4 separate regions of the Homo sapiens genome follow, and all the other regions are linked to region 1. Evidence: promoter capture Hi-C in 16 types of primary human blood cells and fetal thymus (Javierre and others, 2016). All regions are on one chromosome and are shown on one strand. The core of a region is centred on a gene start or on the middle of the fragment in contact, and the rest is flanking DNA. Distances in the headings are between cores, read along the strand shown. Region 1 holds the start of STAT5B (signal transducer and activator of transcription 5B). Region 2 overlaps ATP6V0A1 (ATPase H+ transporting V0 subunit a1). Region 3 holds the start of ATP6V0A1 (ATPase H+ transporting V0 subunit a1). Region 4 overlaps ATP6V0A1 (ATPase H+ transporting V0 subunit a1).

Region 1 (6,184 bases), core at 1,036-3,535:
TCTGGGAGTAGTGGTGCACGTCTGTGGTCCCAGTTACTCATAAGGCTGAGGCAGGAGGATTGCTTGAGCCCAGGAGGTTGCCTTGAGCTGTGATTGTGCCACCACACCATGAGACCTTTTTCTGTGAGACTGTCTCCAAAAAATAAAAATAAAAAAAAATCATCACACCCTTGACCTCCCAGGCTCAAGTGATCCTCCCACCTTAGCCTCCTCAGTAGCTGGGACCACAGGTGTGTGTCGCCACACCGGGCTAGACCCTGTCCTCTTAATGACTGCATAGTCCTTGTAACCTCCATTTGCATTCCTAGAGCATAGCATTTGTTCCAAAAATATTTATTGAGTGTCTGTTCTGGGCTTGAACACGAGTAGGAGGATTTAAAAGTGAATAGCATATTGCGTCTGCCCTTGGGGACAGAGACAGAAACATGAAAACATGAAATTGTCCTTCAACACAAGAAGTGCTGTAATAGAGGCATGAATAACGCGGTGGGAAACAAGGAGGGAGGTCATGCTGCCTGAAGCAAATGTCACCGAAGGGCAGACATCAAGAAGGCAGGACATTCCAGGCAGAGGGAATAGCATGTGTGCAGGGATGAAAGCTCACAAGAAAGAGAAACATGAGTCAGGTGCGGTGGCTGATGCCTGTAATCCCAGCACTTTGGGAGGCTGAGGCGGGCAGATTACGAGGTCAGGAGTTCGAGACCAGCCTGGCCAACATGGTGAAACCCCGTCTCTACTACAAAAATACAAAAATTAGCCGGATGTGGTGGTGTGCGCCTGTAATCCCAGCTACTCAGGAGGCTGAGGAAGGAGAATCACTTGAACCCAGGAGGTGGAGGTTGCCGTGAGCTGAGACCGCACCATTTCACTCCAGCCTGGGCAACAGAGAGAGACTCCGTCTCAAAAAAAAAAAAAAAGAAAAGAAAAAGAAAAGATAAAAGAGAAATATGGAGAACATGGAGCACCTGAGTGTCAAAACATCATGGGCAGTAACTGTCAGGGAGATTGCCAGAGAGCTCGGGGTTGGTTGGCGCATCCATCCTGCTTCCTGCTTCCTTCTCTGGCCTCCAAGCTCCCTGAACCTACTCTGTGCAAAGCACTGTGCCAGGTGTTGGCCCAGAGTATGGGACTGCAGCAGTGGCCTGGGTAGCGGAGAAGGGTTTTTTGACCAGCTGGAGACCTTTGTGGCTGGTGTCATTCTGGAGGTGAAGAGAAGGCCGCTGGAAAGAGCTGCCCAGGGAGGACTATGGGAGAACTTGCAGCTCTGGGCCATCTCTGGACATGAACGTTTTGCATACACACAGGGGAGCTCTGTGTGTCTGAGTGGGGGCGGGAGGGGTCCTTCTCTCTCTTTTGGCCCCTGCAGCTTGGCTTCTGGAGCTTTCCTATGTCTTGCTTTAGTGCTAGCCCTTGGAGGGTTGCCAGGGAAACCGCTGGCCAGCTCCGGGAGATAGACGTAGCAGAGGAAAGGAGAGTGGGTGACTCAGCCTGGCTTCCCACAACCGCAACCCCCTCCTCAGCACGTGGAAAGGATCTGGGGGACCCCCTTCCCCTGGATCCTACAGATGACCCTGTTTATTCTTTCTTCTCTAGAGAGAGCAGTCCCTCCCGCAGCTCTGACTGGTGGGAGCCAGCCAGATTTTCCCAGGAAGGGAACCGGCCCCAGGCGCCCCGTCCCCCGTAGGTTCACCCTGGAACTCGGACAGGTGAATTCGGCCTGGGCGAATGTGAATTCCTGCCGTGCCCATGCAGGCGGCAGGAGCCCTGGCTGAGACGCCCTCCCGGGGGCAAACCCAGGATAATTATTGATCGGGGCCCCTGTGGACTTCTGACCTCGGCCTCGGCGGGAGAGGACCCGGAACGCGGGCCTGGGCTCCCAGGGAGAGAGGTGGGCGGGCCGCGGAGGGGGCCAACCAAAACGACCACGACAGTGCGCCCTAGCCCTGCTAGTGGTGGTCGACCCAACCCAAACAAAGCAGCATGTGCTTGCGGTGCGGCGTCGGCTAGGGAGCCGAGCCGGGAAGACACCCCACCGCCGCAGAAAGGGGGTGCGCGCGGCGCCGGCACCGGCACCGCCGAGCGCGCCGCCACCTCGGGTGTGCCGAGGGGGTCCGGGTCCTTCAAGGGCGGTCGCGGAGGGGGCGCGAGGGACAGCGGGCTAGCGAGCGCGCGCCGGGCGGAACCAGGAAGCGGGGCGCGCTCCGGGTTGCCAGCGGCGCGCGTCCCTGGGCCTCCGCGCGTGAGCGGCGCGCGCGCCCCCGCGGGCCCCGGCGGGAGGAGAGTCGGCGGCCGGAGCCGTCACCCCGGGCGGGGACCCAGCGCAGGCAACTCCGCGCGGCGGCCCGGCCGAGGGAGGGAGCGAGCGGGCGGGCGGGCAAGCCAGACAGCTGGGCCGGAGCAGCCGCGGGCGCCCGAGGGGCCGAGCGAGGTAGGAGCTGCGGGGCGAGCCCTGGGCCCGGGGCCGGGGGAGCCAGGCCGGGGAGCCAGCCCGGGCGGGGCCCGCGCTCCAGCCGCTCAGCCGCCCGTCAGGGCCGCGCCGCCGCCATCACTCCCGGGCCGCGGTGGTTGCGCGCTGGGCGAGGGGCGCGCGCGGGGAGAGGGGGTCCGGGTTGGCTGCCGGGGAGGCTGAGGGCAATGCGGGGTGCGCGAGGGGGACTTGCGAACGCCGCGGCGCCGCGGGGGGCGTGCGCTTTAAAGGCTGCGTGCGCGTGTGCTGAGTGGGTGTGTGGGGACCCCGCGCCGACCCCATAGGAGCTCAGGGGGCTGCTGTCAGCCGCCTCACACCTTCACGTTGCAATTCCGAATATCCCCAGCCGTCTTCCTTGCTTTAACTTCTTTCTTTCAAAAGAGGTTCCCGGGACTCCGGGGATGGGATGAGCCTGCGGGGGTGCCTGGTGCGGTGGGGGGTATTAGCAAAGCTTCAAGAAACAGGGCCTTATAAGGAATCAAGACAACAAATACGAACGTTTCGATAAGACTCTGGGGGGCGGGATCCCACATCAGGACCCGCCAGGCCTGGGCTCGTGCGTGTGGCCGTGGGATGCAGTGTGCTTTTTCTTTCTAGTCAGGGATAAAGGGTTAAAAGTGCTCCTGGTGTCGGGGGGTAGATATGGAGAGTCGGAAGGGGAGTTGTATCACAAAAGCTGGTCTGAGGCTAAAGGAATCTGGCAAGATGGTCGGGGTGAACAAAGAGGAAAGAACTCACACGGAGCAAGAGGCGGTTGCAAACACTTGTAGCCAGCAGTGATGGAAAAGCCAAAGAAGAAAACCAAGTGTCAGCTTTTAGAAAGACGGGATTAATGAAAAGCACAAGAATTTTAAAGACTAAAAGAGATACCGATTCTCTCTTTGCCAAAGAGCCAGAGTCAGTTCTTTTCTTCTTGGTCCCTGTGATCCCGCCATACCTCGTATCAAATAAATAGTGCCAAAAGTGGGTCAAAGAATGTTAGAGCTGGAAAGGAACCCAGCGATGATGCCATTCTTTTATTGTACAAATGAGGAAACTGAGGCCCAGATAGGTGGAGTAAGTGGCCTGCTCAGGTGACACGGCTGTTTGTTGAGTATCCAGGGATTGAAACTTCAAGGACTCTGAGATTCGTGCTCTTCCCAAAGCATCGTGCAGTATACAGATCTTTGCCTAGATACAATTCCATACATTTTCTCTGCAGTGTCCTCAGGGAATGCCCTTTGAAAGGGCCAGCGTGACACTGAATATCATACTTGGGCTTATGTCATTTTTTTCAGTCTTCAAGTGGTGTTTATGGTCTGCTTGGATCTTAGGTTTCCAAAGCTGTTGGATAGCCGCCTGGGCCATAATAAGCTTTCAGCTGTTGGGTCTACATTATTTCAAATAATTTTGTTATCTTTCAATTAAGGTAATAGAACTGTGCCTCTCTCCCCAACATTCTATTGTTGTCCATTTGCTTATGTTATATTGCGTTATGTTCATTGCCTGTGAGTTCCTAGGTGAGGATGTATTTTATTGAGTGTGCCTTTCATGTTTTAAAATTTCATTTTGTAACACTGTAAATATTGGAGTGGTTCTGATCACTTCAAATGGGGAGAATCTTATTGATTGATTTTATTTTAAGGCTTTGGGTTGTTTTGTTTATTCATTTGGGTACCAGTTTCCATCTCATGGAAGATCACAGTTGTTAGAATGGACATGGCTAAATAAGAGAAGGGGCTGCTGATTTTAAGAAAAACTTCCTATGTGACAATTTGTGGTATCTGTTACGTTTAATTCAAACAAGTCCACACCTTGGGTCAGGTAAGCGCGTTATCTAGGAGATGACTTGTTTGCTACTGTAGCCTCTGGAAGATGAAATTTCAAGCTCCAGATTGAGACACAGGGAAGGAATGGAGAGGTTTTTTTTTTTTTTTTTTTTTTTTTTGTAAAGCAAACCATCAGAAAAAAAAAGTTGATTTCTATCACCAGTAGTTTGGTTATTGCATAACTTGAAGCTAAACTCTGCACAAAATAATCTTTGCTATATACCCAACTAGGTAAACTATCCCACCTTCTCATCAGTTCTCACCTTTTCGGTGCTTGTATTTTTTGCCCACGGGATATTAATATGGATTGTGTTCAGAAATTTAAGGTGTGTACTTCATAGTATGTATGATTGTAGGAGAAAAATGTGCTATCATCGTTTGGAGTGTTACAACATAAATATTTTGGTCAACACTTCCTATCCTGCTCTGACTTTTCATCTCATCTCCATTTTCTTCCTCTCTTGATTGTTTTTATGTCATTTACATATGTAAAAGCCACATCAAGACTAAAGTTGCCATTTATTACTTTTTGATACTTAAGTCGAGTTTTTTCAAATCATAGTATTGTTAGTATTCAAATTGTCTGTAATTTTTGTTAGGCTTATATATTATGAATCCATTTGTTGTGGTTTATTTGGCTTGTTGTTATGTAGGTAGGTGACACAGGTAGTCTTATTGTAAAAGGAAGACGTTATAGATAGGTAAATAACATGCTCAAGATTAGATGCAGGTTACAGGTGGAATCGAAGGAAGCCTAACTATTTTCGTGCCCTACAAAAATGTCTGTATCTCATAAAGTTATTCACAGATTTCTGGACATTCTATCTGTGACACATTTTTTCCCTTTCTGTTAAGAGTGCAGATTACTGCATTATTCCTACAAAAGGAAGCAAAATAACCCTAGTTTGTATGATTTTTCTGATAATTTGAAACTTATTCGTTTAAAAAGCTATCTGGCAATTCCAGGTTACTGGACTCTTGAGAAGAATATCCTTTTATTTTGATACTATAAAATATCAAAGTATCAAAATACTTTAACTGTGCAACTTAATAAAAATAATGCTTCAAAGTTAGCTCTGCACTATCGCTGTCCTCAAATGTGTGGTATTTAAAGGAAGAAAATGTTTTTAATTCTGAGCTTTGTGAATAGAACTCTTCTAAAATCAGAAGTTTTTTTTTTTCTCCTGCAGTGTTGGAAACACAACAGTTTTATGCTTATTTCTGGGAATAAGAAAGTCAAACTTAACAATCTAGTTTCCATTGATCAGACAGTTTTTGTACTTAAATTTAAGTTCTAAGCATCAGAGTGATAAATACTTTTTAAAATTGTATTCACTGTTAATTATAGTGGCCTTATTTGAAGTAAAATCTTGACATTGGGTGTTTTATTAATGATGATCCTCTGCTACTGAAAAGCCTATGTCAGTTTGGAGAAGATTTTGCACATCTAAATCTATGCTGTTTTTACTAATCAAAAGAGAAGAGCAATTTACAGGTGTTAGATTTTTAGTTGGTTGAATGAGACCCTCACTTTTGATGGTTTCAGAGTTGAAGTGACGTTTTATTACTTTTGTTAGTTTGGGTCACACCCATCACTTCCTTGGAAGGTATCTTTGAGGTTTGGTTTCCTTTTTTTTTAAATGGTAATATTGGGGTGGGGGTGCTTCCTGTTTGTATTTTCAAAATTAGGTCCACATGTTAACCTTCTTGTAGTGTCACATTTTTATTTTAAACTTATACAGACAAACATCAGATGCCATGTGGTTTGTCTCTGACCCTTTGCGCTACTTCATGACAGCTTTACTGAGTGAAGCCTGAATACCCAATCGGGAAGGCAAGATGTTCTTGTCTTTTCCCAACTCTCTTCAAAGTTTAACAGCCTTGGAAGGAGTCTTAGAACAGCAACAAA
Region 2 (5,929 bases), core at 3,364-5,863, 240 kb before region 1:
TGCAATGAGTAAACGGGAGACGAAGATGGGCTGCCCAGTCCCCTCTTCCCACAGGTAGTGTCTGCAGAGCTGACTTGGATCCTGTGAGTGGGAAGGCGCCTGGGAAACTTGGGACAAGGTGAGAATTTCCCAAACCAACTGCCCAGCCAGGCCTACTGAAGCTGTGGCCTTTGATAGAAGGAAAAGCAGCAATGCTGGAGGAGGGAGGCGAAGGTCAGGGGTCCACAGGGGCTCAAGATGGCTGAGCCTGGAGCGACGCAGGGGCTGTGGGCACAGTGACAGGCAGCTTCTCCGGGGAAGTCAAACATACTTTATTCAACATAGGAATGTCTGAACAGGAGGACCTTGGGCAGGGTTCCCTGAACTCTGCTTCAAACCCCACTGGAAACAGAGCAAAGATCATCACGAAAACCCAGGACACCAGGGCAGGGGGGCTGCACAAGGTCGGGTCAGGTCACAGTGGGCCAGCACACAGTGGCCCCGCCCAGGGCCAGCCCAGCCTGGGAGAGGGGATGAGGGCTCCAGGCAGCTCACTCAGAAAAGCCAGGGTAGGAGGAGGGCACCAGCCTGGCCCACTCAGGGAATTCTTTCTACCACTGAAAGCGGTGGGGATTAACTTAGCCAGGGCTGCCACGCCAGCACACGATTACAAGGTTCGGGGTGACAAGGAGGAAGCCCCTTGGCAGGACTGTGCAGCCCTCACAGCCACATGCACGGCAGCCCTGCCAATGGCTTCCAAACAGCAAACCATCAGTGACACTGACCTTCCCTGCCCAGGACACCCCTCCTGAGACCTGGGGCCAGTGTGGTGAGGAGGGGGCACTAGGGGCGGAGCCAGGCAGGCTGCAGGCAGAACCAAGAGGACCCCAGTCCCACACTGAAGACATCATGATTGGGGGTGGGGAAGATCTCAGGGTCTCCATCAGGGAAGAGCATCAGTCTGCACCCTCGGCCTGAGGGTGTGCTTGTGGGCAGGGCCCATGCAAGGCCTGGGAAGAAGCCAACCCCGAGAGAGGGAAGCCCTGTGCACTGCGGAGCAGCCAAGGCCTCTGTTCCAAGCATCCCGGCTGTGCTATGTAGTGCAGGGCATGAACGGGGAGAGAGGAAAGGATGGGAGTGCAGGGTGGGGTCAGAAAGGCGGTGTAGATATCCTATGACCCCTGGGGATGACAGGGAGAAGCCACTCATGATGGCCTAGTTGGGTCCAGCTGAATGCCAGGGGGGTGGGCAAAAGACGCAAATATCATCTTCCTGGACCCACCCCTGCTAATCCAAGAGTGGGACATGTTACCAGTGTCCCCTTCTAGGGAAGAATCTGTATTACTCCCCCCACTACTCCTGCTAGAAACTACGGTGGCAGATGCAGGGAACTCAAAGTCTAGATGTGAATGGCATGGGTGCTCCTTCCATCTACAATGCACGGGGAAGATGAAAGGGCTTTGGGATGGCGTGGGAATGCAGACTGGCTCACCACCAGGAGGTGGGAAGGGCTGTCTGGATGGATGGAGGCTAAGAGGGCAAGGCTGGTGCCCAGTGAGTATGAGTGACAGCCAGAAAATCACTACACTACACACAAAGCTAGGGGTGGTGGGAGACCCAAGGAGGACTATTCTATCTAAATGACTCACAGACAGGGTGACACGAATGAGCTGGTGCCCACAGATCACAACCAACAGGCAGAGAGGCACAGCTGATCACTGTGGAGGGAGGCGGGGAGGGTAGCATGGGGCACACGGCCCTCACAGGGACTCACTCTTCAAACTTCCCTTCCCGAATATGCTCGAAGGAGAAGGGTAAGAACTTGAAACCGGTCCCGCTGTAGAATTTATTCTGGAACTCAACCCTGGAGAAAGAGAAGAAGAAAGCTGTCATTCAATAGAAACTTTGTGAAGCTTTTTAGGACTTCACAGTTGGGCAGGAAAGATGCCCCGTGCCCACCTCACCCCGAGCCTCCCTTCCCTGGGGAAGCTAGAGAAAGCCCAGAGTGCAGAGATCCCACTTTTAAGGCCTGGGATCAAGAGTTCGACGCACGGAGGAAGGGATTTGCCCTCAGTTCCCAATCTTGCTCTGTCCTGCCGAGCAGTGTGTTTATGCACAACTCTCTGCAGAGAGGCATGTGCAAAAAAAGTTCAGTTACCTTGAGCCTAACATCGTTAATGAACAAGTGGCCCCCATCGCCCCCTCCTGGCAGGGGATCACACAGCCCACCTCTAAGGGAAGCCCCTCCAGAGACACTGGGCAAGCACCTCTGTTTGCTTGTTATTTTTCCTTGGGGGAGCAAAAGGGCGAGCTTGGAGTGAATGTTGAAGGCTTTCCATTTAAGGAAGGAAATTCCAAGGAAAGAGGGGGAGTTAGGAGGGGAAGTCTTCTCAAAGCAATGGCAAAAATATTCTCCAACCACAAAAACATCTGAGAAAGAATTCTTCTCTTGGGGACTAAAAAGAAAAAGCCTGAGCTCCCTTCCCAGCAGTTCAGCATCCATGCCTGATGGTCTCTGTGGGGCCCTTTCACTCTCAGGGAGGGTGGGAGGAAGACTGTCCCATAAGCAGAGCGAGGCTGCTTGGCTGTGCTTCCTCCTGCAAACTCACCCTGGACAGCTGCCCAGCAACCAAACCACACCAAATAAGGGCAGAAAAATGCATGATTCAGGGGATAAAAAGGCCAAGGAGAGCTGCCCTGAGGAATAGTTTCCACATGGTGCTGTGTGACCCTGGAGGCACCGGAGCCCCTATAAGAACAGGCAGGCGTGGGGGCTGGGGCAGGCTCCAGGTGACAGGTCACGTGCAGGGTGAGGGCTTTGAGGCGCTTTAAAGCTTCAGGAACCCTCTAGTTCCCTAACTCAGCTTTTACAAATGGAGATTCCTCCCTCCAAGCCAAGAAGGCAGGAATTAAGAGAACAGGGGCTGGGAGGTGGCTGGGGCCCAAAGGTTACAGACTGTTTGCCAGTGGCACTGGGAGTTCCTCAGAGGCCCCTTCACTGGGGTGCAGGCTGAGGAGCACCCCCTTGAAGAAGAGCGCAACCGAATTTTCTGAGTGGGAGTAAAAGCAGTCAGCTTTCTTCCCCACATCCCCACATTCCACAGGGGTGGGCCAAGGTCCTCCAGGAAAAACAGGACTCAGGAGGGGGAGGACACAGAGCTTCCAACTGACGTTAGCTGACGGTTCCCACCAGAGCAATTCCAAACCAGGACCTGGATTCACCCACGTCCCAACACCCCACCAAAACTACTTCTCCAAGTTCCAGCTACTGAGACCACCTCTGAGGGAACGCGGTGGGGCCTAGCAGTGGGTTCCTGCTTCTCACCCACTTGTGTTAGGTTTGAATTCTTCATGTTGAATAGACTGTGTTCCCATGTGGCAAGGGTTATTTCAGAACAGCTGAAACGAGATTTACATGTCCCCTTTTCATTCAACAATACATAGCCAGAGAGTGGACAAGTCACCTGAGGGTCCCAGGCCATTACCTAGGAGTGAATGTCAGCCTTGGTAGGGTATGCTGACCCCCGACTCCAGTGAGGTGTCCAGAACTCTGACCCCCACCCCCTCCTGGCTAATCACAAAACCATTCTAATCTTCAAACTGGGCAAATGGAGCAGCAGCTTTGTTTTCAGATGCCTGTGGGGGCACCGCCCTTTTCTTGGCACCCCTCCAGTCACCTTATCTACCCATGGGGGCCCAGCAAGGAGGAAGAGGGATATATGCCTGGGAGGGGCACATCAATTGTACTGTGTGAGCAGACAGGTGGCCTCCCTGACATACTGCCCAATACTGCCCCTCCCACCAGCTGCTGCTTTAGAGACTTAGAGCGGCCAGAACTGGGACATCTTGGGTCTATCTTGAGGTCAGCCTGATTTCACCTCCTTCCGTGGCCACCCTCACCCCAACCACCCAGCACAAAGCTGGAAAGCAATTTCCCTGCTAGTCTCCCCACTCTCTCCCGCTGAACTGGGGAAATGTGTGCTTCCTGAGAAAGTACAAACATGAAGTTCCCCAGGGCAAGGGGGGCCCCATCTGCCATCCTAGGTTCTTCCTTCTTTTTGGGCATCTCCACTGCTCTGCTCAGGGAGCCTCCAAAGTCTTGCCATGCCCCAAGACACTGAAATGCACCTCTAGAATTCAACAGCTGTGAGGAGAGCCTCAGGACGCCAGATGAGTGTCTCTATCATCTCTTCCAGCTCCAGCACTTGGCAAAGGCCACCTGGTGACTCAGAGGGATTAACTGGGGCCAAAAGACATCATTCATGCCACGTAACAGGAACTCTGTTTCCTCGAGTGGGTGAAGGAGGAAGGAGTCTTGGGGCCGCTTCCCTTCCCTGGTGGGGGTTGTGACTGAGGGCAGGCAGTCTGGAAAGACAATTCTGGGCTGAGCTGTTTATGTAGCCTGTTCTGCCACTCTCTGTGCCGTTCAGGGCCTACAACACACATCTGTCTGACGGCCTGAATATCAGGGCAATGATGGCAGCCTGGAACTACATTTCAAGAGTTCTGAGTTCTCCTGGGCAGCCATTCCCTCAACTGCTCCATGCTGTCATGCCGTGGCAACACTGCATTCCTAACAAGAAGCTGGTCCCCGATTCTGTCCCTTTAATCACCACCCAATCTGTGAGTGTACAGGTAGGTGTACATCTATGTGTATGTGGAATTCGCTAGGTAAGGAGAGACCAGGTTCCTTGGAAGGTATGCCCTGGGGCAATAGTTCTGCATAAAAATCAGTTTGATGTTTACAGTGATAACTACAATCAAATCCCTGTCTCATGCCTTCTCTGAGGAAGAAAAGATGTCTAATTATGGTAGGTAAGAAGCCAAGCACACTTCATGTGGCAGGAGGGAGGAAAAGAGAGAAAACTCAGGAGACAGAATTAGCAGATTAATACATTAGCCTGCTCACTGTTTTCAAACACATCACCCCCCTTCCTATGATGCTGCATGAATCTCACACTAGTGGTTTATATGTTATCGAATCAAATGTTTTTCTTATTGTCCCCACTGAGGAGACCAGAACTTGTATAATGGGGCAGCCCTTGAATCAGGAAACAGCAGGGATAAAGTGGGAGGTATGAAGATGCCTAGGATGGATGCCAGGAAGAACAGCAGCACCATCCCTACAGCTGGTTCAGCAGCCCCAGAGGCTCCACCCCTGGTAAGAGGGCCACAGCTCAGAACGCCTCCTGCAGTCCTGGGCCACAGGGAAGATCCAGGCATCCTGGACGCACAGCCGCATTTTGCCAGGAGGGGGCGCACAAGCACCAATTTCATTCACTTCTGTTTTAGTGGTGGGGGAGGCGCCCCACTCGTGTCACGGGAACAGCCCTCCAAAGACGAGATTCTGGAAGTTGCACAAAGGAGGTTTGCACTGTTTTTTCCTCTCCTACCCAATACTCCTATTGCCAAAATAAATACGACATATATGGGGAGGCTGTTCCTTGCAAACAGCACCTGAGGGCATTCTGATGGTATCCTCTGCCTCCTCTGGGGTCTTCTCTCACTCTAGACAGGCTAAAAGCAGTCTTTTTATGGGGGACCCCAGGCAGACACCCTCTCTCTAGGGCATCCCAGGTTTTTTTGTTGTTGTTGTTGTTGTTGTTGTTTTGAGACGGAGTCTCGGTCTGTCGCCCAGGTTGCAGTGCAGTGGCGCGATCTTGGCTCACTGCAACCTCCATCTCCTGGGTTCAAGCGATTCTCTTGCCTCAGCCTCCCGAGTAGCTGGGATTACAGGCGCCCACCATCACGCCCAGCTAATGTTTGCATTTTTAGTAGAGATGGGGTTTCACCATGTTGTCCAGGCTGGTCTCGAACTCCTGACCTCAGGTGATCTGCCTGCCTCAGCCTCCCAGAATGCTGGGATTATAGGTGTGAGCCATCGCACCCAGTAAGGGCATCCCACTTTTAAGCAGAGCAGCCACTACCCATCCTAGAGCACCTGCTTTTG
Region 3 (5,857 bases), core at 2,689-5,188, 180 kb before region 1:
CATGGCGAGACCCCCATCTCTATTTTTTTTCTTAATGTTATAAATTTTATTATTAAAAAAAAATTAACAGAACTAGAAGAAACTGAAATATCTGTTGGCCAGGTATGGTGGCTCATGCCTGTAATCCCAGCACTTTGGGAGGCCGAGGCGGGTGGATCACCAGAGGTCAGAAGTTCGAGACCAGCCTGGCCAATGTGGTGAAACCCCGTCTCTACTAAAAATACAAAAATTAGCTGGGCATGGTGGTGCATGCCTTTAGTCCCAGCTACTCAGGAGGCTGAGGCAGGAGAATTGCTTGAACCTGGGAGGCGGAGGCTGCAATGAGCTGAGATCACACCACTGCACTCCAGCCTGGGCGACAGAGTGGACTCTGTCTCAAAAAGAAAAGCAACAACAACAACAACAAAAACCACACATAGGAGAAATAAAAGCAAAACAAATCACTGTACGGGTTACCTCTGGGGTGGAAGAAAGGACTGGCATGGAGCAAAGAGAAACAGAGGTTTCAATTATACACGGAATGTTTCCCTCTTAAGCAGATAGTAGAAACATAGGTGGTCATTATAATACTCCCCCCACCTCTTTTTTTTTTTTTGGTTTTGAGACAGTGTCATGCTCTGTCACCCAGGCTGGAGTGCAGTGGCATAATCACAGCTCACTACAGCCTCGACCTCCTGGGCTTCAGCGATCCTCCCACCTTAGCTTCCCAAGCAGCTGGGACCACAGCCATGTGCCACCACATCCGGCATTTTTTTTTTTTTTTTTTTTTTTGGCAGAGACGGGATCTCCCTATGTTGCCCAGACTGGTCTCCAACTCCTGGGCTCAAGCGATCCTCCTGCCTTGGCCTCTCAAAGTACTGGCATTTCAGGTGTGAGCCATTGCACCTGGCCCCTATCTCTTTTTTTTGTATGACTGAAGTACAGCATAAGTAAAAGAAAAGAAGGCTGAATAGAGCCAATAGATGTTAAGCAGAGGGACAACATAGGACCAGATGAAGAACTGCAAATTAAGGATGACAAGTTTTTTGTTGTTGTTGTTGTTGTTTGAGACGGAGTCTTGCTCTGTCGCCCAGGCTGCGTGCAATCACACAATCTCGGCTCACTGCAACCTCCGCCTCCCAGGTTCAGGCGATTCTCCTGCCTCGGCCTCCCGAGTGGCTGGGATTACAGGCCTGCGCCACCATGCTAATTTTTTTTGTATTTTTAGTAGAGTCGGGGTTTCACCATGTTGGCCAGACTGATCTCAAACTCCTGACCTCCCGATCCGCCCGCCTCAGCCTCCCAAAGTGTTAGGATTATAGGCGTGAGCCACTGTACCCAGGCTAGATTGTCCATATTCTTTAGATAGCTTCTCCAAGTGCCCAGTATAATATTCCAAAATAATGAATATTCAGTATATGCTTATTTATATACTATATATCTGTAGCTGGATACCTCAAATTTTATTTTTTTTAAAATGTCCTACTATATGGAAAAACTGCAATATATTTTTTTAAATACCTTGCTATTTAGCAAGTGAAAGCCTTGATCAGGTTAGTTTGGTAACCTCTCCCTGCATCCCAAACAATTACCTGGAGAATGCTTAGGACTGTTCTGAAAGTGGGAGCTAGCAAAAGCATGTAAAGATTGGCACAAAACATTCTCACCTTTAGAAAGACAACTCAAAATGTGCATTCTGCCAATAGGAAGTCAGTGCTATAATGTTATTTTTGCAAATAAAAAACAAAACATTCATCATAAGGCATCTGACCACGATAGCAATAGAGTTCAGCAGTAATCAAGTCGCAGCCCCACAACTACTTACGTCACGAAACTGAACCTTTCCAAGTTCTCCTAATTCACTGACACAACAATAAGCAGCCTCTGACTGTAGAAAAAGCTGGGCCAGTGTCATTTCTTCACTCCGGAAAAGCTCCCCCATGGTGGCAGAAGGTACCAGTCTAGTGAGTACCTGGATTTCTCTCCAACCTGAAGCAAAGAGAAAATGACATAACTTTGGAAATTACCACGAGGGCTAAGAGCAAATGACACCCCACTACGGCTCTTGCATTTACATTTCTAACACCCCATGAGGACAGGTCAACAACTGTTTTTGACACCCTGTCTAGAAAGATGGAAAGGAGAAATTGCAAAGGCAGTTCCTGAATTCTGTCCCACAGAGTGTCAGATGAAAAGTCACTTCCATTCCAGTCAACATCAGGATCAAATGACAATTATTTTGGGCAACTCAACTGATAAGAATGTATCCAGATTAAAGACAGGAACTGGGAACCTCAAACAACTCTTTAAATACCCAGGACACAATATTGAGGCAGTGAGTTTCACACTGCTCAATCTGTTTTTGCTAGTGCAGGAAACAAACAGAAGAGGCCTTCAATACCCTCTCATAAAGATGTCTGCCTTGTAACTATCCTTCTCCCTTCTACTGACAATGCGCATTTCTAAAAGCCCAAAGTTCTGGCACTATCCTAAAGCTATGGCTACACTAAAGGGTTTAATCTTCCAGATTCCTCAGAAAACAATATTTCCCCACTTAGGAATTCAAACAAATAACCGTCATCTGGAAAAAGCAACCAGTTTGCATATTAAGCTCAATTTCAAATCAAGCATGACAGGAACACACTGATAATGACAAAGCAGTTTTATCAAGCCACAGAGAATAAGCCTTCCACCTCTGCAGCTTTCTGTTTCTCAACCCTACCTTCAAGATTAATTACATTCTTCCATCTGTCAAATCTCATGAGCCAATAAAGGTTTCGTTTTAGTGCTGTCTTACTGTTGCCGGGTATGAGACAACTGGCGCTATCAGTGGTCCTGAAACTGCAATTATTTATTCTCGATCAGCTAATGTAAGGCACAGCCTGTCCAGTATCCAAACTCAGAAAAATGCACAGTATTTTTAGTGTCATAAGGGCATCTATACTGAGTACTGATAGATGAGTCTGACATCAAAGGAAGATTTACTCTTCTGGAAGGCTGGGAGACATTTTGAGAAATCTGAACGAACAAACCTTTGTGCATGTGATGTTCAAGACAGTAACACAAGCTCAGACATAAGCAAGGACTTCTCAAGAGAATATGCAGGCTGACTTTAAGATTCTGTACATCTGAATCATCCAAATCAGCTGTTACCGGCACCACCCTTAAACAAAGAGAGATTCTACAACCTCTAAACACATAAAATTAGGCCTGGTCAGCATAGTTCAGGAGCTGTGGATAATGATAAGCCTCCAACGAGTCGCCTCCGTCCTCCTGCTCTTTAATGATTATAGGTCTCCCAAGAATATCTCTATAGCAATGGAGGCTAACAGAAAACTAATTAGGCCAAAGTAGTTCTGGACGATCACAAAACAAAATATGAAGAAACAGCAATTCTGCAAAAGATGAGTCCAACTACAGCGCCCCCGCGCCCTGCCTAGAAGAATCTCACTCCTGTCATCCGGTCCTCGCCTCCTCCCACGGTATTCACCTGCTTCATTTCCTGTCTACCCAATGAGCAGGAATTCTCTGGACTCAGGCTCATCTACCTTGAGATGGGAAAAAAGGAGAGGAAAACCCCCAAACTGAGAAACCCTTTAAGAAGCCCCCTAAATTCTTCTGCCTATCCAATAACCTCCGGTTCCTCCGCCTACCCCTTAAAGCAGGGAAGAGATGCGGGGCTTCCAAAGGGCAGTGAGCCTCCGGTTCCTCAGGGCAGAGGAGGGGTGCCCAAGGAGGGGGCGAACCCCCATTTTATCTCGAAGACGTCAGATCCCCGCTAATTCCTCTGACAATCAAGGGGGCTCTTAGAAGGATTTCCTACGTCCATCGAGGGCCGCTCCCTGTTGCGCTAAACCTACAGCCCCCACTCACCTCCAAACTCCGCCACAGCAACCGCCACAGAAACCACCGCAGCCAAACCCGCACCCTCCGCGGCTCCAGGAGCAGCGCTTCGACGTGCTTGCGTCCGTAAAGCCCCGCCCCTGCGCCGCCGCCGGCCCCCGCCCCCGCAATGACCTCATTGCAGTTGGCCAATGGGGCGCAGCCTCGCCCGGGCTGCAGCAGTGCGGAGTCACGGGGGTCGCAGGCGAGACCCAGCGTGCTGACGCCATGTTGGCCCCTGTGCTGTATCTCCACGCTGGGGAGGGTTAGCGGGTGGGGCTGGAGGTGCAGGTGCTCGAGGCCTTAAGTTCCTGAGCCTCCCTGAATCCTTTTTCTTACCCCTTATACTGGGGTAGGTTGTCTTTTCTCTTTCTTTTTTTTTTTTTGAAGTCTCATTCTGTTGCTCAAGCAGGAGTGCAGTGGCGTGATCTCGGCCCACTGCAACCTCCACCTCCCGGGTTCAAGCGATTCTCCTGCCTCAGCCTCCCAAGTAGCTGGGACTACAGGCACGCACCACCATGCCCGGCTAATTTTTGTATTTTTTTTTTTTTTAAGTAGAGACGGGGTTTCACTATGTTGGCCAGGCTGAGTCTCGAATTCTGACCTCGTGATCCACCCGCCTCGGCCTCCCAAAGTGTTGGGATTACAAGCGTGAGCCACCACGCCCGGCCTTTTTTTTTTTTTTTTTTTTTTTTTTTTAGATGGTCTGTTTCCCAGGCGGGAATGCAGTGGCGCGTTCTCGGCTCACTGCAGCCTCCGCCTCCCGGGTTCAGGGGATTCTCCTGCCTCAGCCTCCCTAGTAGCTGAGATTACAGGCACGCACCACGCCACCCGGCTATTTTTGTATTTTTTGTAGAGATGGGGTTTCGCCATGTTGCCCAGACTGGTCCTGGCCTCCACCCGCCTCGGCCTCCCAAAGTGCTGGGATTACAGGTGTGAGCCACCGCGCCCGGCCCTCTCTTTATTTTCATATCCAAAGAATTAATTCACACATACGCACCCAAATAATTAATGTCTTCTCTCTTTATTTTCATATCCAAAGAATTCACACACACACTCAAATAATTAATACGCAGACACATATACCACCCTTTCTCTTTTCCCTTATTTTACAGATGAGAACATTTGAGCCCCAGACTGGGGAGCGGCTAGCTTTAGATCCTGTAGTAGAGTCTTTAACGGGGTCTCATTTGCATAAGTATGGAAAACCTCTCTTTAAATGGTACATGGTTCATGCCTTCCAGCAACTTCCCCGGGTCTATTTTTCTCTGTTTAACAGGAAAAACCTCATCAGACCATATGTTGTGAAAGTACATTTCAGTCTTGTTTGGTAGATTCATGTGGGCTCAATTGACCACTTAGGAGTTTTCAATTCCTCAAATTTATTTTAAAAACATTTTTTATGGCTTGTACTCAACTTGTAAATTAAATATTGAAAAACATTTTTTAAACGCAAAAGTGATGTCTATTATTTTTTAAATGCCATTATCAAATATTGATATTGATTCCCTTTTCTTGCCCTTTTAAAGAAGAGTAGGGATCTCAAGTCGTTTGTGATAACCAGAATTGTATCAGGAAAAACTCAGAAAACCGGTTATTCTGTCTTCCTGGGTGGTGGAACCCTGTTGAAATTCAAGTGTAATGAGGGAGATATTCCAGATAAAAACTTGTTGCTGATAATTTTGTCAACCTGACAAAAACATCATCAAACCTGCTTTACCAGCCTAAACAAAATAAGGGGACAAAAATGGACGTTTTATTTGAATTTATTGTCTCATATTGTGAGTGAAGATATAACCTGACTTCAATACAACCTTCTTAAGACACAGAGTCTTGGAGAGACCCATACCCTCCTTCTCCCTGCTCCCTAGCTCTCAACCCTTCTGGCAAGACAGATCGGGACCCACATTTAAAAGCCTGCCAAGTTAGAGAAAACTGTTACACAATATCATTTCCTTCCTCTGAGACTTAAAAAAAAATTAACCTCAGTCAGCTG
Region 4 (6,068 bases), core at 1,888-4,387, 200 kb before region 1:
AAAGAATACAAAAAATTAGCCAGGTATGGTGGCACACGCCTGTAGTCCCAGCTACCCTAGAGGCTGAGGCAGGAGAATCCCCTGAGCCCAGGCAGTCAAGGCTGCCGTGAGCCGTGATCATGCCACTGCACTCCAGCCTGGGCAACAGAGTGAGACCCCCCCATCTGAACAACAAAAATAAAAATAAAAATGAATGCAGGCTATTTCTAATTGATTAAAATAGCCCCTAACATTATTAAAATTAACTGTGTTGAGGTAGACTAAAAAGGATTTGTATTTCACTATTGTGAACTTTAAGACTCAACAGTTGGGCAGCATGGCTGTGCACTCCTGGTAGAGGCATGCCTCTCTTACCCTTCACAGATTTTCTTGACTCTGTTTTTCAGCTGATCGCCTTGGAAGAAAATGATAAACACAGACTTGTGCACGTAGTCGCCCTAGGCCCCAGAATAAAAAAACAAGAGTTCAGACTTCTGTATCTGGATGAAAATCTCTTAAATAACCCACTTTTTTGGTGATGCAAGAACAACAGGCATCTTTTAAGGACATGGCAGTCCTGCATTTTAACCACTGCCCTCACTCCATTTCCTAAGCTTCACTACAAGAACATCTGCCCTATAATCTCTAATTCACAAAAATCTTTCTCTATTTGTTTTTTTGACTCAACCAGGAGCTTGAAGCTAAGATGATGCTCCTCTTAGCACTGTTTAGACTTATTTACCAATTCAGCTTTAAATCTTATATTGCCTGAATGATGAAAGTATAGGAGAGAAAAGAGAAGGAAGCCATTTCTGCCTGTTCTGGGACTTAGAAATTCTTAGATAAAAGGGGCTGAATAACTACAAGGAACTGAGTCCCTGGAAAGAATGCTGATATAGAATCTCACAATTCAAGCTAATCTGGACTTTATGGGGCAGGGAGGAAGGTAATCCATTCCAAATACCAAATTTATACCTGAAGTATGATGCAAGGACTGGAAGGAAAGATCAGAAAAAAAGGTGTATGGTGTGTTAACCAGGATTGTCTCAGGTTGCCTGTATTTTCTCATAGTCATACACAGCATGTAGAGCTTTTATAATAACAAACAAAACTTTAGAAGGATAAAAGGGGATGAGGAGTGAAGAAAATTGGGCTCAAGGGTCTGAAATCCCTAAATTCTGTAGGCTAAACTAGAACCCATTCTTTGTGCAGCCTGCTCTGTTACAGATATCCAGGGTCCCCATTTCTGGATTTGTTGATAAAATAACCTTTCTGTTGCCAAGAGGAAACTTGACTGAATATTCCTGAGAAAAGTTCCTCATTAATGTGACTACAAATTACAACGTTTCCACAACCTGATGGCCTTTGGCAAGATTGTGAAACTACACCCCTAGGCAGGGGGTTCACCTGAAGTGTAACCACACTCCTCCACGGCATGGAGGATGAAAGACCTGCAGCTGCACAGCCCACCCAATCTGAGAAATCTCACAATTCAATCTCTCTCTTTTTAGGTAAAGAACACGAATTTAAGAAATTCACAAGATAATTTAGAACAGAAAAGCTAACTTTAGGTTTCTAAATAATACTAGTACAAAAGCAAAGCAAAATTTTTGCAGTACATTTATCTTCACTGGTACTCCCTGAAATCAGGACTCACCATACCTAAATGCAGGTTTAGACGATAAACTCTGTCCCATTATGGCAAATGCCAGGATGTTAAACTGTTTCTACTTCCTGAAGTACTGGGTGGGGAAGATCATCCTATTTTGTGCGATATCTATTCTTAAACTAAGTTTCTAATCCTTCCAACAAACAAACAAAAAAACTTTACCAAGTAAAATTTCATCAGCTTATTAAGATCACAGTCTAGGAAATCTCTCCTTCTCTTTTTATACATGAATATTACCAAACTTGGGGCTGGGCATGGTGGCTTATGCCTATAATCCCAACACTTTGGGAGGCCGAGGCAGGCAGATCACTTGAGATCAGAAGTTCAAGACCAGCCTAGGCAACATGGTAAAACACTGTCTGTACTGAAAATACAGAAAAAATTAGCCAGGCATCATGGCACATGCCTGTAATCCCCAGCTACTCGGGAGGCTGAGGCAGGAGAATCGCTTGAACCCAGGAAGCGGAGGTTGTGGTGAGCCGAGATCGCGCCACTGCACTCTAGCCTGGACAACAGAGTGAGACTCCACCTCAAAAAAAAAAAAATTACCAAATTTGGAACCAGATGTCTTGCTTTAAAGTTAATTTTCATAAAAGGCAAATGAGTGAAAATAAAAATTTCCAATCAGAATAACATCTACACGGGTAAACTTGAAAATATGTATATGTCATGTATACATCATACATCCATATGTATATATGACAGGAATTAACTAAGAGGAAGTACTTCAAATTCTCCAATTAGAGCAGAGATAAAGATAATGGCTCCTCTGTGGAAGCACTGGATTCAGGTGGCCCCATGCTACGTTACTGCTCTGGGCTCCCTTTACAAGACCTACTCCACAGGATGCAATCTCCTTGTCTTACAGTCACAGGATCCTCCAGGGGGTTCTCGATTTCAGCCTGTCGCAGGAACACATTTCCCCGGCATACCCGCCAAAGCATGCGCTCAAAAGTAGGGATGCGCTCCCGGTTAATGACACCAGCCACGAAGCTGTGGGGAGAAGAGGCAGATTGGAAACTCTATTCCATGTCATGGGATGGAAGGTTTTAATACAAGTCTTTTTTATTTATATTTATATATATATCTTTTTTTATTATACTTTAAGTTCTAGGGTACATGTGCACAACGTGCAGGTTCATTACATATGTATACATGTGCCATGTTGGTGTGCTGCACCCATTAACTCGTCATTTACATTAGGTATATCTCCTAATGCTCTCCCTCCCCCCTCCCCCCACCCCACAACAGGCCCCGGTGTGTGATGTTCCCCTTCCTGTGTCCAAGTGTTCTCATTGTTCAATTTCCACCTATGAGTGAGAACATGTGGTGTTTGGTTTTTTGTCCTTGTGATAGTTTGCTGAGAATGATGGTTTCCAGCTTCATCCATGTCCCTACAAAGGACAGGAACTCATCATTTTTTATGGCTACATAGTATTCCATTGTGTATATGTGCCACACTTTCTTAATCCAGTCTATCATTGATGGACATTTGGGTTGGTTTAATACAAGTCTTATTCCCAGCTTCACTTATGGACCCAGCAGAGAGCTGACAGAGCAACTCAGGCATGAATCCAGAGTTGTAGGACTATCTCAATAGGCTCAGAAGAGGGCATATCCTGGTAGCAAGTGAATCCCCAGTCTCACTGCTCTTCTGAACAGAAGAGATGAACATGGCCCCACTGAATACCGAAAAGTTGACATGGCACTTACCCAAGTCTTAAAGGAGTGCCTCTTCCCATCTCACTTGGCTCCAAGAGGGATGAGGACTCTTCCAACAAGTCTGGATCCGCCATCTGCTGATGATGCAATTCAGCCTGAATTCACAAATCAATTAATATCTAATGAAAATAGTTAGTGGCATGCAGGCAACGAGGAACCAGGAGACAGGTTCAGAAAATAAGGATGAAAAAGAAAACAAACCACGAAAAGACAAGATATATCCATAAAAAGACAAGAAGAATAGGGGATGAAAACACAGAAAATAAATTTGAGGTAAAGAAAGCATAATTGCCCCAGTAAAGCATCTGGGGAAATGGTTTTAGAAATAAGGAGCAAAAGGAAAAAAAATTAAGTGATGGTGACATGTATAAATCTGTTACTTGGTGGAAGCCATTTTCTCTCCTACGTTTCCCTGAATGAATGATGAAAGTGCCAGGAAATACCTCTGCATGTAGATAGGAAGCTAAAATATCTCTTCTTTCTGTGCAATAATGAAGAGACTCTGCAGATACTCTGAACATTTAATTTCTAGGCAGCTACAAACTAGAATTTTCCCTACGTGAGAATGTGAAAGATAGAGGCTCTCTTTCCAAGGAAGAAGCAAGGCACTGCCACTGTCTTTGAATGCTGTGAAGTCTGGAGAAAGACAGAAGGGGAAGCTCCAGGTATCTACGTTTCCAGCCCCTTTAAAATTCAGAATATGAGAACTTTCAGCATGGCCACTTATAGAATGATCCAAGCCATGGGATTTAAAGAGTATTTATGTCTTCAAAAGGATAAGAAGCACAATAGCTGGGCAGGCCTGTAAAAACATATCTGAATGTCCCATTTTCTGACTAGGAATCTTCTAAATAAGTTCACATAGGCTTTACAGTTGTAGGATTCTTGAGAACACAGCTCAAGAATCAAGTAAAGTGAAGGAAAAACAACAGATAATAAACCAAACTAGAGTTCATGGGCTGGTTTAATTGGTAAGATTTAAAATGACTTCCACCATGACAGTTTATACAATGAAATGAAGAAGGATCTTCCCACACGCAGGTCTACATTTCCTAGCCTCTCTCTACCGAACTCATCCTACCACCCTTTACTCCCATCAGAAAGGAGAAGCTGCTCCAAAAAACAAAACAAAACAAAACAAAACAAAAACCAGTCCAATCAACTTCTCCATTGCCTCATCTCCCCAACTCTAATACCCAGGCAATACTTGTTTGACCAAAAACTAGGAGTAAACCAGAACAATCATCCTCTTCAAAAGCACAATAAGACAAAAAATCAGAAGAGTTTTTCTCTATCATTTTCATTCCAAATTTCAATTTGATTCTACCCCTGTCAGCCACACTCTTAAAAAGTGGCACAGGGACCATAACTTGATAAAGTCATGGGATCATAAACATAGCAAAAAGGGGGAAAAACTGTGTATAAACCAGATGATAAGTCTGAAGGCCTAAAAAATAGAAAGCAATCATTTTGGGAAGTAAGGATCAACACCAGAAGTGCAGAGAAATACTGTCATGAGATTGGAAAAGTTTAAGATGAGATCATGGAGACACTAGTTACCACTGGCTGTTACATGTAAGTTGAGGGGGTTCTTTCGGTTTCTACTTGCAATCAAATCAGCTGACTACAAGCAACTTGTTTTCAGGATCCCGATGATTACAACATTTCAACTTGTTCTTGGTTTATCCCTTGGCAAAAACCAGTGAGCCTGACTACTCACAAGACTCCATCCTACTTGCCTGCCTGTCTCACAAGACGTGGTTTAAGTCAACCCTAAATATCGGACTCAATGCAAACACATGTGCTCTAACTGATGGAAAAGCAAACAGTACTTAGCAACTAGACCACTTCAAAGACTCTATCTAGGACTCTCTGAGAATAAAAAACAACAAAATTAAAATTCAACAGAAACTTGCGATAATATTTGAATTGCTAATTTCACCACTTCATACTTAAGAATTCTATCTTAGAGAGAAAAGTTACAAATTTTTAAGTAAAATTGTGCCTGGTGAGAAACTAGGATGACTAGAACCACTCACTAACTGAAGGCCTTTAAAGCAGTATCTAAAACCATGTGGTTGAAAGTATCTAAATCTTAGAGCAGGGGTGTCTGATCTTTTGGCTTCCCTGGGCCACATTGGAAGAAGAACTGTCTTGGGCCACACATAAAATACACTATAATGATAACTAATGAGCTAAAAAAAAAAATTCCAAAAAAATCTCATAATGTTTTGAGAAAGTTTACGAATTTGTGTTGGGCCACATTCAAAGCTGTCCTGAGGCCTGAAGGCCATGGGCTGGACAAGCTTGTCTTAAGGGTATCTGGGTTCTCTAATAACAACATTGTGAATATGCCTCTACATTACTGCTATGCCCTCTGGTTTCTCCATTCAGATACTGAAAACCACGCCTTACAAAAAGGAAGTAGAAGAACTTCAGTTCTGTTTCTACAGCAATTAAGTATAAATAGCACATCCAGTTCAAGCTATGTCAATTACCAAGAACAAACAATTACTGCCATCTACATCGAGAAAAAAATTATATTTCATTACTTAAGGTATTCACCTAGGCCCCAAAGGAAATGGCAGATGGGAAAAAAATAAAGAAAGCAGATGGATGGAAAACTGAGAAGGAAAGGAAAGCAGGGAATCTGCATGCCATTAACCATTACTTTTCCAGTCTTCTTTATGTTCTCATA

What was found. Contacts are between HindIII fragments. The CHiCAGO score rates a contact against its expected background, and 5 or more counts as called.
Region 2: a fragment that was not itself captured here is called in contact with the fragment with the promoter of STAT5B in region 1 in 3 of 17 cell types (megakaryocytes, erythroblasts and fetal thymus); the score reaches 6.9 in megakaryocytes.
Region 3: the fragment with the promoter of ATP6V0A1 here is called in contact with the fragment with the promoter of STAT5B in region 1 in 2 of 17 cell types (neutrophils and fetal thymus); the score reaches 9.1 in neutrophils.
Region 4: a fragment that was not itself captured here is called in contact with the fragment with the promoter of STAT5B in region 1 in 1 of 17 cell types (fetal thymus); the score reaches 5.5 in fetal thymus.

Annotation. Positions count from the first base shown.
Region 1 is chr17:42,272,492-42,278,675 of GRCh38, reverse strand. STAT5B (signal transducer and activator of transcription 5B) reads left to right here and starts at 2,285. Exons shown (of 19, transcript NM_012448.4): 1 at 2,285-2,428. RefSeq lists a silencer at 2,043-2,652. The HindIII fragment of the contact is 9,010 bases long and covers 1-2,920 here.
Region 2 is chr17:42,516,941-42,522,869 of GRCh38, reverse strand. ATP6V0A1 (ATPase H+ transporting V0 subunit a1) reads right to left here. Exons shown (of 22, transcript NM_001130021.3): 22 at 291-1,843. The coding sequence ends at 1,750. Among named protein-coding and RNA genes, the nearest start is that of MIR5010, 5.7 kb to the right of the region's middle. RefSeq lists a silencer at 5,271-5,320 and an enhancer at 5,764-5,929. The HindIII fragment of the contact is 3,596 bases long and covers 2,816-5,929 here.
Region 3 is chr17:42,456,959-42,462,815 of GRCh38, reverse strand. ATP6V0A1 (ATPase H+ transporting V0 subunit a1) reads right to left here and starts at 3,938. Exons shown (of 22, transcript NM_001130021.3): 1 at 3,853-3,938; 2 at 1,805-1,968. The coding sequence starts at 1,921. RefSeq lists a silencer at 3,869-4,078 and an enhancer at 4,229-4,318. The HindIII fragment of the contact is 8,228 bases long and covers 1-5,857 here.
Region 4 is chr17:42,475,036-42,481,103 of GRCh38, reverse strand. It overlaps ATP6V0A1 (ATPase H+ transporting V0 subunit a1), which reads right to left. Exons shown (of 22, transcript NM_001130021.3): 6 at 3,362-3,444; 7 at 2,515-2,641; 8 at 355-437. Among named protein-coding and RNA genes, the nearest start is that of MIR548AT, 17 kb to the left of the region's middle. The HindIII fragment of the contact is 5,083 bases long and covers 596-5,678 here.